Linked DNA regions of Homo sapiens: all the other regions are linked to region 3. Evidence: promoter capture Hi-C in 16 types of primary human blood cells and fetal thymus (Javierre and others, 2016). All regions are on one chromosome and are shown on one strand. Each heading gives the region's core, a stretch centred on a gene start or on the middle of the fragment in contact. The rest is flanking DNA. Distances are from core to core; before and after follow the strand shown.

Region 1 (2,700 bases), core at 9-2,508, 270 kb after region 3:
GGAGCCGGGACCCACAGCCCGACAGCGAGCCTTTCATGTGGGCAGGGGGCTTCCCGCACGCAATGCGAACCTACGCCTGGAGCTTCCCAAAGACAGCGTCCGGCGCAGGAACGCGAGATGCTGGCCGCCTCGCCTCTGGCCCCCGCGAGCATCAAAGCGCGTGCCGTCGAGGGGGCACGTGTCCCCCATCGGGCGCGCCTCTGCTCCTAGTCCCCTGAATGAACACATCCTTATGAAAAGTGGAAATTAGCCGCCGAAGGGAAGGGCCCGGAGAGCTTGGGAAGCGACCTAGGCTGCCAGCCTCCCGGCGGGTCTTTGGTCCCAGCTCTGATGACCTGTCAGCAGCCGCAGGACCTGCGCTTAAAGGCGCCTCTCCAGGCCTGGCTCAGGGTGGGGCTCCTCGTGCTCAGCACCCTGGTCAAGGTTAGGGCTGGGTGTGCGCTGGAGGCTTGGAGTGCCAGGGCACCCAGTGAAGAGCGAATGAATGAACGAGTGAACACCGGACTGGGGGCCTGCAGACGGTTCTTCGCAGGTTAATTAGAAGGCCTCTAGCAAGCTGCAGCGGAGGCATTTCAGGCATCCTTCAGAGAGGACCCTCGGCCTGGCTCCTAAGGGCCCCTGGTCTGGCTCTCACCCCCTGCTCTGGTGGCATTTCTGCTCACTCAGCCTTTACCCTTTACACGCCAGCCGCTCTGAACAGTTTATTCTTCTGGGAGCACATCATGTTCTTGCTCACATCCAGGTTTTGCGTAAGCTGTTCCTGCTGCAAGGAAAACCCTTCCTGTGTCCTCCTCAGGTGAGAGCTCCCGCAGGCAGCTTCTCCCCGGAGTCTGGCGTAAGTGTTCCTCCTCTGCACGCCTCTGAGGACATTTGCAAAGGTCTGTCATAGGGCTTACCACCCCGTTACCTGTTTGTTTCCACCAGGGAGTGCGCTGAAGCTGAGAGGGAATGAGTGAGTGAATGAAGGGCTTGAGAAAGGAAATTTCTTCACCCTCCAGTGCCCTCTGGGTGGGTATTGAGACAAGCTCTACAGGAAGCCTAAGAAAACTAACTGCTCTAATTCTGTCCTTCCTTTTGCAATGTTTAGGCAACTCCTGTGCATCTGTAGGTACCATTGTGAGGTTACTGCCCTGGACTGGGGAGAGATCCACACACGCAAGAGTGCATCTGGCATCAGTATGTAAGAGTCAAAACTGACACACAGTTCTTCATCTCATGGAAATGAAAACATGCATGGCCGGAATGATCTTATACCTGCTTCTCTTGGGCCAGGTCACCAGGCTGGCCCTGAGAAGTATGTGATGGCATGGAGAAGAATCCTCACACATCCTTGCAGTTCTCTAGGATTTGCAAGGCATTCCCCCCATTGCTGGACTCACTGGATTTGAGTAGGCCTGTCTGCCCCTATTTTAGAGATGAGCATATACACCTTACAAAAACTGAGTCTTGCTCAATGTCTGGCAAAGAAGTCTTCCTTTATCCAACAATCCTGAGAGTCTAGCGGGTGTTGGGCACCATAAAGATGAATGAGGTGCGGTTCTTGCCACCAGGCAGTGCCCGGGCTTGTCAGGGAGACCCATGTGGAGCATGACAATTGCTACCTTCTTGATACGGGCAAAAGGATGTTGAGTCCAGTGGAAGGAGAGGCTTGTCTGGCTGTGAGATCAGCAAAGTCTTCACAGAAAAGGAGAATTTTAAATGGGGCCTTGAAGGGGAAGTGTCTCCTGGAGATGGAGAGAACATAGCGAGGAGAGTGCGGTGAGGTGGGGGGTGGCAGGGGAAGCACATCACTACGCGGTGCTTAGGGCCGAGTCTGAGCCAACCTGGGAGTGGCACTCAGCTCCCCCAGGCCCCCGAGATGCATGTTCAGCAGCATCCAGCGGCCTCCTGTGAAGCGACTGGGAGTCCACAGAGACAACAAAAGCAGATGTAGTGATGTGTAAACTTGAAGTTTCTAGAAGTTCCTTTGGGCCCCACCAAATCTCTGTGGCAATGAACCAATCCCACATGTTCCTGTGGGTAATGCTCCCAGAGGGCATGTGACTTTGGGCATCATTATTGGCTGAAAAAGGAAACTGGGGTAGTAGTTAGAGAGTGCTATGAACTGAATGTTGTGTGCCTCCCAAATCTGTACACTGAACTCCAAATCCCACTGTGGTGGTATTAGGTGAGGGGGCCTTGGGAGGTCATTAGGTCCTGAGGGTAAATCCCTCATGAATGGGATGAGTGCCCTCACACATGAGACCCCAGAGAGCTCTCTGGCGGTCTTTCTACCATGTATGGCTGCAATGAGAGGTCTGCAGCCTGCACCTGGAAGGAGGCCCTCAATGAACCTGACCAGACTAGCATCCTGTTCTCAGACTTCTGGCCTCCCAAACTGTGAGAAACAAGTTTCTGTTGTGTATAAACCATCCAATCTATGATAGTTTGTTATAGTAGCCAAACCGACTAGGACAGAGAGGATGTAAGGAGCCAGTGGAGGACTCTTTTAATGGAGAGACTACAGCATGTCTCAGGCTGAATGGTCCAGTAGGGAGAGCAAAAACAGTGCCCATGCATCACCCTGAGGTCTCACCCAACCCTGCTGGAACTGACTTTAGTGCCCTCTTCCAGTGTTCCCCGCATGACCTGGTGGGTGCACACCTGGCTGCTTGCATTCACACCGTCCCTCTCCACTTCTTCCTTCTCCCCAGCTCTCTT
Region 2 (2,700 bases), core at 33-2,532, 310 kb after region 3:
TAAGCAAGCAATTCCACTGCTAGGTATTTGCCCAAGAAAACTATGTTTATACAGACTTGTATAAGAAAAATATGTTCCCAATAAAATTGTAAAGAATGTTTATGGCAGTCTTATTCAAATATTGAAGAACTGGCAGCAACCCAGATGTCCACCAGGAAGTACATGGATAAACAACCTATGGTATGTCCATATAATGGAATATCACTAAGCAATAGAAAGGAACAAACTATTTATATATTCAGTGTAACATGGATGACTGGCAAAACCATTATGGGAAGTGAAGGAAACCAGACCCAGAATAGTACACACTGTATGATTCCATTTACATGAAATCCAAATGTAGACAAACGAATATATAATGTTAGACACCAGTTTGTGGGTTTATGTAAGTGTTTTGGGGTGTTAGGTGGGGGGTTGTTGACCAGTTAGAGGCATGAGGGAACTTCCTCAAAGAATAGAAATGTCTTATATTTTATTTTGAGGATTATGACATGAATGTGTATGATTGTCAAAATTAATCATACTAAACATTAAAACCTGAGCATTTTTTTCTATGTAAACTTTATTTTAAAACAAAAATAAAATAAAAACCAGGTCTGGGTCTGGCATGGTGGCTCACACCTGTAATCCCAGCACTTTGGGAAGCGGAGGTGGGCAGATCACAAAGTCAGGAGTTTGAGACCAGCCTGGCCAACATGGTGAAAACCCGCCTCTACTGAAAATACAGAAATTAGCTGGACACGGTGGCAGTGCATGCCTGTAATCCCAGCTACTCAGGATACTGAGGCACGAGAATCGCTTGAACCTAGGAGGCGGAGGTTGCAGTGAGCCGAGATCGCGCCACTGCACTCCAGCCTGGCGACAGAGTGAGACTCCGTCTCAAAAAAAACAAAACAAAACAAAACCCAGGTCTGGTGATTGATATATATTTGACCCTCACATTTCTAGCTTGAATGTTTGTGTGGATGGTGGTGACACTAAGACAGATGAAGGATGTGAGAGGAAGAGAAGGTAAAGGAGGAGAAAGATGAGTCAAATGTTGTATCAATGGAGTATGTGGTGTCCATTATCACAGGCACCAGCTAATGATATCCTGAAGGAAAAAAAAAAAAAACACTAACAAAAACAAAACCACCTGAATCAATGAGTCTGAAGCTCAGAGAAGAGGTCAGGATAGGAACATACCCCTGACAGTCACTTGATCATTGTGAAAAGCAGGAGTATGAGTGAAATGATGCAGAGAGGAGCTCTGGCATTAGAAAGCAGTGGCCAAAGGCTGGATCCTGAGAGGCAACACTCATTACCGGGTTAGCAGAAGAGAGCGTTCCATGAAAGAGACTGCAACTCATCCCGGAGGCATGAGGAGAACCAGGAAAGGGCAGAACCACAGTCATTCAAAGCCAAGAGTTTTGTGGGGGTTTTTTTTTTTAATTCATTTGTTTTAGTAGGTGTTTCATGTATTAAAAGACTTTTCTAAACCAATTTACTGTGGCATAAATTACATGCCATAAAATTCATTCATTTGAAGCATATGGGTCACTGAGTTTTAGTGAATTTATACAGTCCTGTAACCACTACCACACTCAAGTTTTAAAACATTTTCATTGCCACAAAAATTTCCCTCACACCACTTTGCCGTTGATCCCTGATCCCAAGACCAGCCCCAGACAACCACAGATATGCTTTTATCATTAGAGTTTTGCCATTTTTAGAAATTTCATACAAATGGAATCATGTAGTCCTTTGTGTCTGCCTTCTTTCTTTTAACCTGTTTTTGAGATTTCTTCATGTTGTTGCCTGAATTTGTAACATATTTCTTTCTTCTGGAGCATAGTTTTTCACTGTATGAATAGACCACATTTTGTTTAACCATTCATCAACTGACAGACATTGCCATTGCTTCCATTTAGTGTTATGATGAATAATCCTGCAACGGATATTGACTTACAACTCTTTGGTAGGACACAGATTTTCATTTCTCTTGGGTGAATACCTAGGGGCAGAATTGCTGGGTTGCATGGCAAGCACGTGTTTACTTTTAAAGGAAAATGCCAAACTTTTGCAAAAAGGCTCTACCATTTTACCTTTCCACTAGCAACTTACAAGGATCCCAGTTTCTCTATGCCTTTATCAACACTCCATATTGTTTTGTTTTGTTTTTTAATTTTCCTAGCAGGCATATAATTAGATCTTATTGTGGTTTTAATTTTAATTTGTATTGCCCTAATACCAGTGGTGTTGAACATTTTTTATGTGCTTTTGGACTATTCATATATCTTCTTTGGTGAAACATTTGTTCATATCTTTTGCCAATCTTTTAATTGGGTAGTTTCTCTTGCTATTAAGTTATAAGGGTTCTTTATATATTCTTAATTCAAATCAGATAGTTTGCAAATATTTTCTCCCAATCCGTGACCTTTCATTTCCTGTCACTGAACAAATTTTTAAATTTCGATGAAGCCTAATGACTAAGTTTTTTTCTTTTATAATTTGTATTTTCTGCTTCCTAAGGAATCTGCTTAACCCAAAATTATTAAAAAAAAATTTCTTCACTTTCTCCTAGAAGTTTTATAGTTTTAGTCCTGTAATCCATTTTGAATTAATTTTTGTATATGGTATAAGGAAAGGGTCAAGAGTAATATCTTTTATAACTATTCAGTGATTTCAAGATCACTTATAAAAATAGACTATGTTTTTCCC
Region 3 (2,700 bases), core at 144-2,643:
AGAAAAAACCAGCCACCTCTCCACACTAGCGTTGCTGCCAAAAGCCGAGCCACTCCTTCCCGATTCCCTGTAGCTGCATTTAAACCTATCTCAGCCCCAGATCTGTCACCCCCACCCCCGCGCGCGATGTGACCTTGGACAATGCCTCCCAATCCATCATCCAAGCCTCATTTCCCCTTCTGCAACGGGAAGGAGTGCTAAACCAGTGACCCCCAGGCTCCACGCAGTTCCAAACCGCCACAGTCCTAAGTCCTTTCGCCCCTACCCGGCGCCCGCCACCCTCGCGGCTGCAACCTCTTTCCCTCCCTTTCCGGAACAGTAACAACTTGGAGTTGTGGCTATAAATAAGCCCCAGACCGTGGGAACGCAAGAGTGAGCCAAGGCAGTAAAATGTAGCTGAATGCCTCTCACAACCACGGGCGGAAGTCTGGAAGAAATCACCGCGAGGCGAGCGGGACGCCCGCACAGGGGGACGCGGCGAGCCGCCCTCACCCGTCATCTGCGCCCGCTGCAGGTTCCGGAGGTGCTTCACTGTCATTTCCAGAATGTCCGCCTTCTCCAGCTTGGAATGCCGCGAGCTCTGCATAGAGTAGGCAAGAAAGGAAAGTGAGCCCCGTGTCAGCTGCTTCAGAGTGCTGGGGGTCCCTCCTCCCGGCCACGGAGCGCAAGCATTATCTCTGGACCCCAGCGAATAAGGCCGGGCCCTCCCGCCTGGGAGAACGCAGTACCAGCGAGTGCCAGACCCCGCAGGGCGGGGGGTTTCACTCTTAGTAGCTGAGAAAGTGTTTGTTTTTTAATTAAAAGAGCGAGCAGCATTTCCCCACTTACATCTTTCTTCAGAGCATCCAAAATCAGTGTTTTCAGCTGGCTCAGACTTTCATTTATTCTTGCTCTTCGTCTTTTCTCCATAATAGGCTTTGATGACTGCAAATAAAAAAAAGAGTTCTGTGTTCCCATGGAATCTGCCATCCCGGGGTTTCAAGACAGAAAGAAGCCCCCCAACCCCTACTTAATTTTGAGGGGCTGCAAAGAGATACAGGTACCGCCCTTACCTTTCTGTGCTCAGATGCTGTCTTTGGTTTATCCGGTGTCGTGTTGACACTGGCTGGGGTAGCAGCCACCGGGGACGAGGAATTTTTCTCCATTATATCAGCTGGCATTTTCCTTTTTTTTTTTTTTTTATCTCTAGAGAATTTTATTTTTGGAGTTCTTCACGAAAAAGAATTTTTTGTTTGTGTCTCTTTTACTTGAGACTTTCACAAAACTACTGAGCAAGTGCTGAGGGTTTATTATATTTTGTGGCTACTTGGTGATCAGTAGCGCTGTTCCAGGACCAAGGAGAGAGGTAGACGGGGGATTCCGCTGTTATCAGCACCAGCTCCGGATCCTGTGTGATCCCTAGGCCCTGGCGGCCTCTATATATATCTGGGACTGCACGCGAACGGCTCGTGTGAAACTTCCCAAACTTTCTTTCCCACAGTAACTTTCAGCCAATGGGAGGAGGAGACACGCGGCACCGCTCGTGGACCGCGCCCCCCCATTGGCCGCCAGGCACAAGGTCTGGCGGCCAATGGCGCGCGCCTGAGCCCAGGGCACCGGAGGCTACAACGTCAATCAAAAGGATTTTAACCCTTTGCTACTCTCCCTCTGGGCTTTGGTTTAGAGATTTTTTTTTTCTTTCCGCTTTGGTCTTGATCTTGTCTATTTCTTTTGGAGCCAGGGTCTTTGCTCTTTATGCCCTCTCTCATATGTAACAGAGCTGCTTTGACTGTAGTAAGTTCATTTGAAACATATTTTTTTTAAAGGTATAAACAATAAAGAAAAAAACAGCAGTGGTTAAAAGGGGGCGGGGGGAGGGGGGGACGGGTGTAAGAATGTGAGTTACCGACACATCTAAAGTTCCCGCTCAGACTTTACATTCAGGAGGGTGAAAGTAGATGGTAAAGGAAAAGGGCCAAAAAAATTTTCCTGTTTCCATGCAGAAAAAGGAAAAATTGCCTTCTACCTCACAAATGCAGGTTTTTCGGAGCAAGGTAGTTCTTGAATCCCACCCCCACCCCGTCTTTCAGAAATTCCTCGTTTGGATTTGGGGCCTTAGACCCCGGGCTTCCCCAGGAAACAATCAGAATAATTTCCAACTGGGTGGAAGGAAACGGTATTTCAAATGAAAAAATGAACAAGGGGGGCTCCGAGGGCAATGACTCAGGGACTCGCGCCCTCCTTCACCACCCTTTCCCTTTTCATCCGTAGGCTTTAGGTTCTGCGGCGCGTTGAGGTGGCGGGCAAGGAAGCAGCCTCTCCCTCCTCGCCCCGCGGGCGGCCTCGGCCCCCGGCGCCCGCGGGCCCTTTAAGAGCTACACCAGCCGAGCTGCAGTTTGACATCAGCCGGCCGGCGTGGGCGCGCCTGGAGCCGGAGCACGTGCCAGGATGTTTTATTGCCGCCGCGGCTGCGGCCGGGCCGGGAGGATGTGTGTGTGCGTGCGTGTGTGAGTGAGTGTGTGTGCGCGCGCCCCGGGGGCAGGGAGGCGGGGGGCGGCGACGGGCGGCGGAGAGCGGGGGCCGGTTCCTGGTCCCCGGGAGAAGCCAAGAAGGTAAATAGCAGCTGCTGTGCTCGAGCCTGGGAAAACCCCGCCCCCTGCGCCTGGCCCGGGCTCATTGGCGCGCGCTGCGTGTGGGGGGTGTGTGTGTGTGTGTGTCCGG
Region 4 (2,700 bases), core at 117-2,616, 290 kb after region 3:
CTCTGGAGAATCCCAGCAGGTGGGAGAGCCGCTCTGCAGAGCGAGGCTCTTTTGACCCAGAGTACACACAATAGAGCCCTCTTAGGAGAGAGATTTTTTTCCACAGGTTTCTTCTTGGCCCTCTGGATTTGTTCTAAGCTGGCTTTCTGTGTGTGTGAGTTGTCTTGGCCTTTCTGGTTTTCTTTCCCTTTGGAACTTTCAGATCTTTCCATTGTGCACGATGTCCCTGTGAAAAGGCCTGAGTCACTCGGCCTCAAACTTTGCAGCCCCAAACATTCCCTCTTTGAATTAAGGTCACCTGTGTATGTCTCCCCACTCGGTAGAGGAAAGGGCACTTCATCGCCCTGGCCCTGGGCCCAAGGACCCCCTTGGGAGCATTGTCGAGGGACTTTTTCAGATGAGAGGCTTTCTGTAAAAGACTGACAGGGACTTCTTAGGACAGATGACCTTTAAATATATTTTCCAATTCTGATTCTGGGATTCTAAAATGGTGTGTGGACCCCATACAATGTCATTTGAGCAGGAGCAGACAGAACTGGAGATAACTCAAAGGAGATGTTAGAGCTGCCTTTAAGATCCTTGGAATACAGAAACAAGAAAGACATTAGTCCTAGGATATGTGATCTCAGAAGGCAGAAATTTTGGCCGGAGTTTTATGACAGGATGGGAGTTTACAGTTGATCTAGGAAAGGAATCCTGATTTACCAGTCAGATCTGCTGGAGTAAAGCCCAAAGACCTGGTTTTGAATGCTCACCGCTGCCTAACATCTGTGTGACCCTGGGCTACTGACCTGACTTTGCTGAGCCTGTTTTCCCATAGGCCAAACAGTGATAAGGCTTGCCTTGATTCTGCCATCCGGCTATTGTGAAGAGGAATAGGATAAGAGAAAGTGCTTGTAAATTCTGAAGTTCTAAAGATTTAATCCTACTGTCCAACTCCCCTGTTTGATGGAGTAGATAACCAGAGAATGGAGAAGTTAAGAAACTTACATGAGAGCACACAGTATTGATCTAAGGTAGTAGCTGATAAGGCCTCACATCTACAAGAGATAATATATTGATCCCTAGCAGCTCCAGGATAAAAGGCTTTTGGGGGGGCCTTGGGGCCATGACGCAGCCCCAACTTCCCACTGGAGTTTCATCTCACTCTTAATTTTATTTTCTGATTATGAAAATTATATGTGCTCACTGTGTGGAACTTGTATAATACAAAAAGCACAAAGTAAAACATGTTAAAACATTTTAATAATTCTGCTATGTGGACATATCTACTGTTGAAATTAAGATATATAACCTTTTAGCCTTTTCTCTGTGCATGTACATATTTGAACATAATTGGAATATTTCATGCAAACTTTTGTATATTGACTCCTTTTTCACCTGATGGTTTGTTGTACACTTTGCCATTAAAATTCATTAAGCAGTATCAAATGCATAATTTTCCACTGTGTAAGAACATAACAGCTTGTAACAAGTCCTCTACTGTTGGACACCGAGGTTCTTTCTTGTTTGCTACAAACAAATGTGTTGAACATTCTTACCTGTGAGTTGTTGTTTTCCTGGCCTGTCTTTAACTCCCAGCACCTTTCATTCAGTCCAGGTAGCTGCCCACATGTTAAGAAGCGGGATCTGAAGGAAAACCTGCATAAGGCTCTACATCAAATGCTGAAAGTGCTGCCCCACCAACAAGCAATGCTTCCTATAGGTTCCCTGGGGTGATTTTGGCCATTCTCTAAAACTCTGAGTTTCTTGTCTTCTGCAGAGACTCACAAATGTTTGTTTGCCCCAAAGTGTTATAGGTTTATCCTGATAATATGTGCAATACGATATACAGCTGAGGCCCTAAGCCCTATTAAAATATCTTAAGGTATTTTATTTAAACATATATATTTTACATGAAGTTTTTATTTTTGCCCTGTGTTGCTTTCAGTGATGCTTAGGGTAATGAAGTTTCACTTTTCTTTCCTGATGTAGGTTTCTGATTGGACATGGGTCCATGTCCTTGTGAAGTCTCCTCCTCCTGAACCTGCCCTGCTCTGTGACTTGCTTTTGACCACCAGCATGCTGCAGAAGTGATGCCGTGTGACTTCTGAGTGGGTCATAGGAAGCCTTGCAGTGTGGCCTGGGTCTTCAGGAATGCTTGTTTGAGGAAAACCACTGTCATGTAAGAAGTATGGCTACCCTGAGACTGTCATGGTGTGAGGACTCCTAAATGAGTCACATGTGGATGGCCACCTATTCAGGCCTCAGTTCTTCCAGCCATTGCGACTGTGGCCCACGCATGTGGGGGAAGAGGCCATTTTTCACGCCCATCCCAGTTGAGTCTTTAGATGATCCCTTCCTGGGCCTCCAGCTGACTGTAACCAGACTCCAGGCAGGAACCACATAGGAACTGAACCCAGTCAACCCACAGGCTGGGGAGGATGATAGTCCATTGTTGTATAAAGCCACTGCATTTGGAATGGTCTGTTGTATACTACCTAATCAGAACAAGACTCAATCCTTTCTTCATAGCTGGTAGTCTTAAGCATTTATTAATTCATATTTTAGTCACATTATGAATTTTCTATCACAATAAGCATTTATTGAGCACTTTTTATAGAGGGACTATGCTAGGCTTGAAGAATAAAAGACACATAGGACACGGCCCTGCTTATGTTCAGGTAGCTGTGGTCTAAACGAGGACGCACACATAAGGTG
Region 5 (2,700 bases), core at 162-2,661, 330 kb after region 3:
GAATATCCACTACAAGCCAGCTCTATTCTCAGCTTTAGAAATGGAGCATTGAACACAACTAACATACAAACCATAAACACAAAAAAATTAATAAAAGGGGTTAATTTTAATAGTTAAAAATTATTGAAAGAGAATAATTCAGGGTGATGTGATAAAGAATGCTCCAGATAGAGAGGTCCTGGGAGGTATCTCTGGGGCAATGACATTTGGGTTTAAGGGGTGTGAAGGAGGTAGCTGTGCGATCATCTGGGTGAAGATATAAGCCCACGCTAAGGGAACAGCAATAGCAAATGCAAAAGTCCTGAGGAATAGATTTAGTGGGTTAAGAGAACAGAGAAAAAGCCAGAGTGACTGGTGTATAATTAGTGTTTAGGGTGGGGAGGTGGCTGGTGTCCTAGAAGAGGAGATCTGAGGGAAGGACGTGAAATGAATTATATAGTCTCTTACAGGTCAGGGCAAGATTCTATTTTATTCCTTTTTTTTTTTTTTCTTTTGACGCAGTCTCTCACTCTGTCACCCAGGCTGGAGTGCAGTAGCGTGATCTCAGCTCACTGCAACCTCTGCCTCCCACCTCACCCTCCCGAGTAGCTGGGACCACAGGCGTGCACCACCCTGCCTGGTTAATTTTTTTTTGTATTTTTTGTAGAGACAGGGTTTTGCCATGTTGCCCAGGCTAGATTAGATTTTATTCTAAATGCACTAAGATGACTTTGAGGAATTTACACTGGGAAGGCCATATTCTGATTTATGCTTTAAAAAGCTTGCTATGAATCCCTCTCTTAGTAATTAATAGGACAAGTATACAAAAAAGTAAACAGTAAAGATATAGATCCAAACAACACAACTTAATTGATATTTATAGAACTTTCCACACCCAATAAGTATAAATACACATGATTTTCAGCTGCAAATAGAACATTGACTGAGATCAAACATTTGCTGAGGCCCAAAATATATCTCAAAATGTTTCCAATAATTGAAGTATTACAGAATGTATTCTTCCAGCAAACAAAACTAAGCTACAAGCCAATTACAATAAGATACCTAGAAAATCCTCCAAATATTTAGAAATTAAATAACATGCTTCGAACTTGGACCTGGGTCAAAGAATTAATTAAAAGGGAAGTTAGAAAATATTTTGAGGCCAGGCGTGGTGGCTCACACCTGTAATCCAAGCACTTTGGGAGGCCGAGGTGGGCGGATCACTTGAGGCCAAGAGTTTGAGACCAGCCTGACCAACATGGTGAAACCCGGTCTCTACTAAAAACACAAAAATTGGCCAGGCTTGGTGGAGCACGCCTGTAATGCCAGCTATTTGGGTGGCTGAGGCATAAGAATCACTTGAACCTGGGAGGTAGAGGCTGAGTGAGCCAAGACTGTGCCACTGCACTCCAGCCTGGGCAACAGAGGGAGACTGTGTCTTAAAAAAAAAAAAAAAAAGAAAGAAAGAAAAAAGAAAATATTTTAAACTGACTGATAATGAATATACAACATACCAAAATGTATGGTATGCAACTAAAGCATTGCTTAGATGGTAATTTATAGCTTAAATGCTTATATTAAAAAGAAGAAAGGTTTAAAATCAATGATCTAAGTATCTACCTTAGAAAGCTGGAAAAATAACACATTAAATCTAAAACGGAGAAAAAAAGTATGAACATAAGAAAAAAGAAATAAATGAAAGACCAGAAAGCAATGAAATAAAAACCATACTCCAAATAGAAACAATTGGCAAAGCCACGCTTTATTCTTTGACAAGATTAATAAACTTTACAAATCCTTATGAATTAATCAAGAAAAAAATAAAGTAAACATAAATGACTTATTTCAAGGATGAAAGAAGGGATATCCTATAGATCCTACAGACACTAAAAGGATAATAAAAGAATACTATGAACTCTGTCAACAAAGTCAATAATTTATTTCAAGGAACATATGTCTCAAAAAACATAACTTACCAATGCTGACTCAACAAGAAACAGAAAATCTAAGCAGCCCAATTTCTATTCAAAAATTTCAATTCATCATCTTATTCAAAAACATTCCCACAAAGAAAGCTTCAGACCCAGATGGTCTCACTGGTGACTTCTATCACATACTTATAGACCCATTTTACAGAAGCTCTCAGAAAAAAAGAAAAGAAATGACCATTTCCCATCTCATTTTATGAGGCCAACATAATCCTAACTTTAAAAACCTGAGAAAGACATTTTTAGGACAAGGACTCTCTCATCCCCACTGCATGGATGAAGCACACTGAGGCTTGGAGTGCTGACACGACTTGTCCCAAATCTCGGGACATGAAACGGCAGCACTGGGGCCCAGGTTCCCATCCCAAGAGGTTTTTGCTACCATGCTGTCCTCTAGAAGGTGGCCCCTTCACAATCTGCAGATCACATCCTGTAGGCAACAGCTCACACCTGCTGGGGCCAGGAGACAAGACCTGAGGAATGCCCCTTCTCCACTTCCTACCCCTAAAGGAATGTGGATGGTGGGTTTTGCACCCCATCTCGCCCATTGTGTGAATCTTCCTATTTACAATGAACAGCTGTGTGAGGCCAAAGATGTATGTGTGGTTATAGGAAAAAAACTTCCATATCACATCTGGTTTTGTCATTTGGGCCAATAATCCTGTCTAGTCCATTATGTATTGCTCTGTGTAACAGATACGGCACAGAAGGAATGCTTAAAAGTTTTAAC

The links. The method cuts DNA at HindIII sites, captures the fragments that hold promoters and counts their contacts. A CHiCAGO score of 5 or more calls a contact.
Region 1: a fragment that was not itself captured here is called in contact with the fragment with the promoter of HES1 in region 3 in 1 of 17 cell types (total B cells); the score reaches 5.6 in total B cells.
Region 2: a fragment that was not itself captured here is called in contact with the fragment with the promoter of HES1 in region 3 in 6 of 17 cell types (total B cells, M1 macrophages, M0 macrophages and 3 more); the score reaches 11.9 in total B cells.
Region 4: a contact is called between a fragment that was not itself captured here and the fragment with the promoter of HES1 in region 3, in 8 of 17 cell types (total B cells, megakaryocytes, naive B cells and 5 more). The highest score is 13.5, in total B cells.
Region 5: a contact is called between a fragment that was not itself captured here and the fragment with the promoter of HES1 in region 3, in 10 of 17 cell types (total B cells, naive B cells, megakaryocytes and 7 more). The highest score is 19.5, in total B cells.

Annotation. Positions count from the first base shown.
Region 1 is chr3:193,867,061-193,869,760 of GRCh38, reverse strand. No RefSeq gene overlaps it. Among named protein-coding and RNA genes, the nearest start is that of LINC02038, 24 kb to the right of the region's middle. RefSeq lists a silencer at 1-121 and an enhancer at 1-291. The HindIII fragment of the contact is 9,161 bases long and covers 1-2,700 here.
Region 2 is chr3:193,821,954-193,824,653 of GRCh38, reverse strand. No RefSeq gene overlaps it. Among named protein-coding and RNA genes, the nearest start is that of LINC02038, 21 kb to the left of the region's middle. The HindIII fragment of the contact is 5,516 bases long and covers 1-2,700 here.
Region 3 is chr3:194,134,841-194,137,540 of GRCh38, reverse strand. HES1 (hes family bHLH transcription factor 1) reads right to left here and starts at 1,393. Exons shown (of 4, transcript NM_005524.4): 1 at 1,053-1,393; 2 at 829-924; 3 at 493-580. The coding sequence starts at 1,160. RefSeq lists enhancers at 1,267-1,426, 236-1,435 and a silencer at 2,426-2,700. The HindIII fragment of the contact is 7,369 bases long and covers 1-2,700 here.
Region 4 is chr3:193,849,714-193,852,413 of GRCh38, reverse strand. No RefSeq gene overlaps it. Among named protein-coding and RNA genes, the nearest start is that of LINC02038, 7.1 kb to the right of the region's middle. The HindIII fragment of the contact is 3,497 bases long and covers 1-2,700 here.
Region 5 is chr3:193,800,564-193,803,263 of GRCh38, reverse strand. No RefSeq gene overlaps it. Among named protein-coding and RNA genes, the nearest start is that of LINC02038, 42 kb to the left of the region's middle. The HindIII fragment of the contact is 1,297 bases long and covers 763-2,059 here.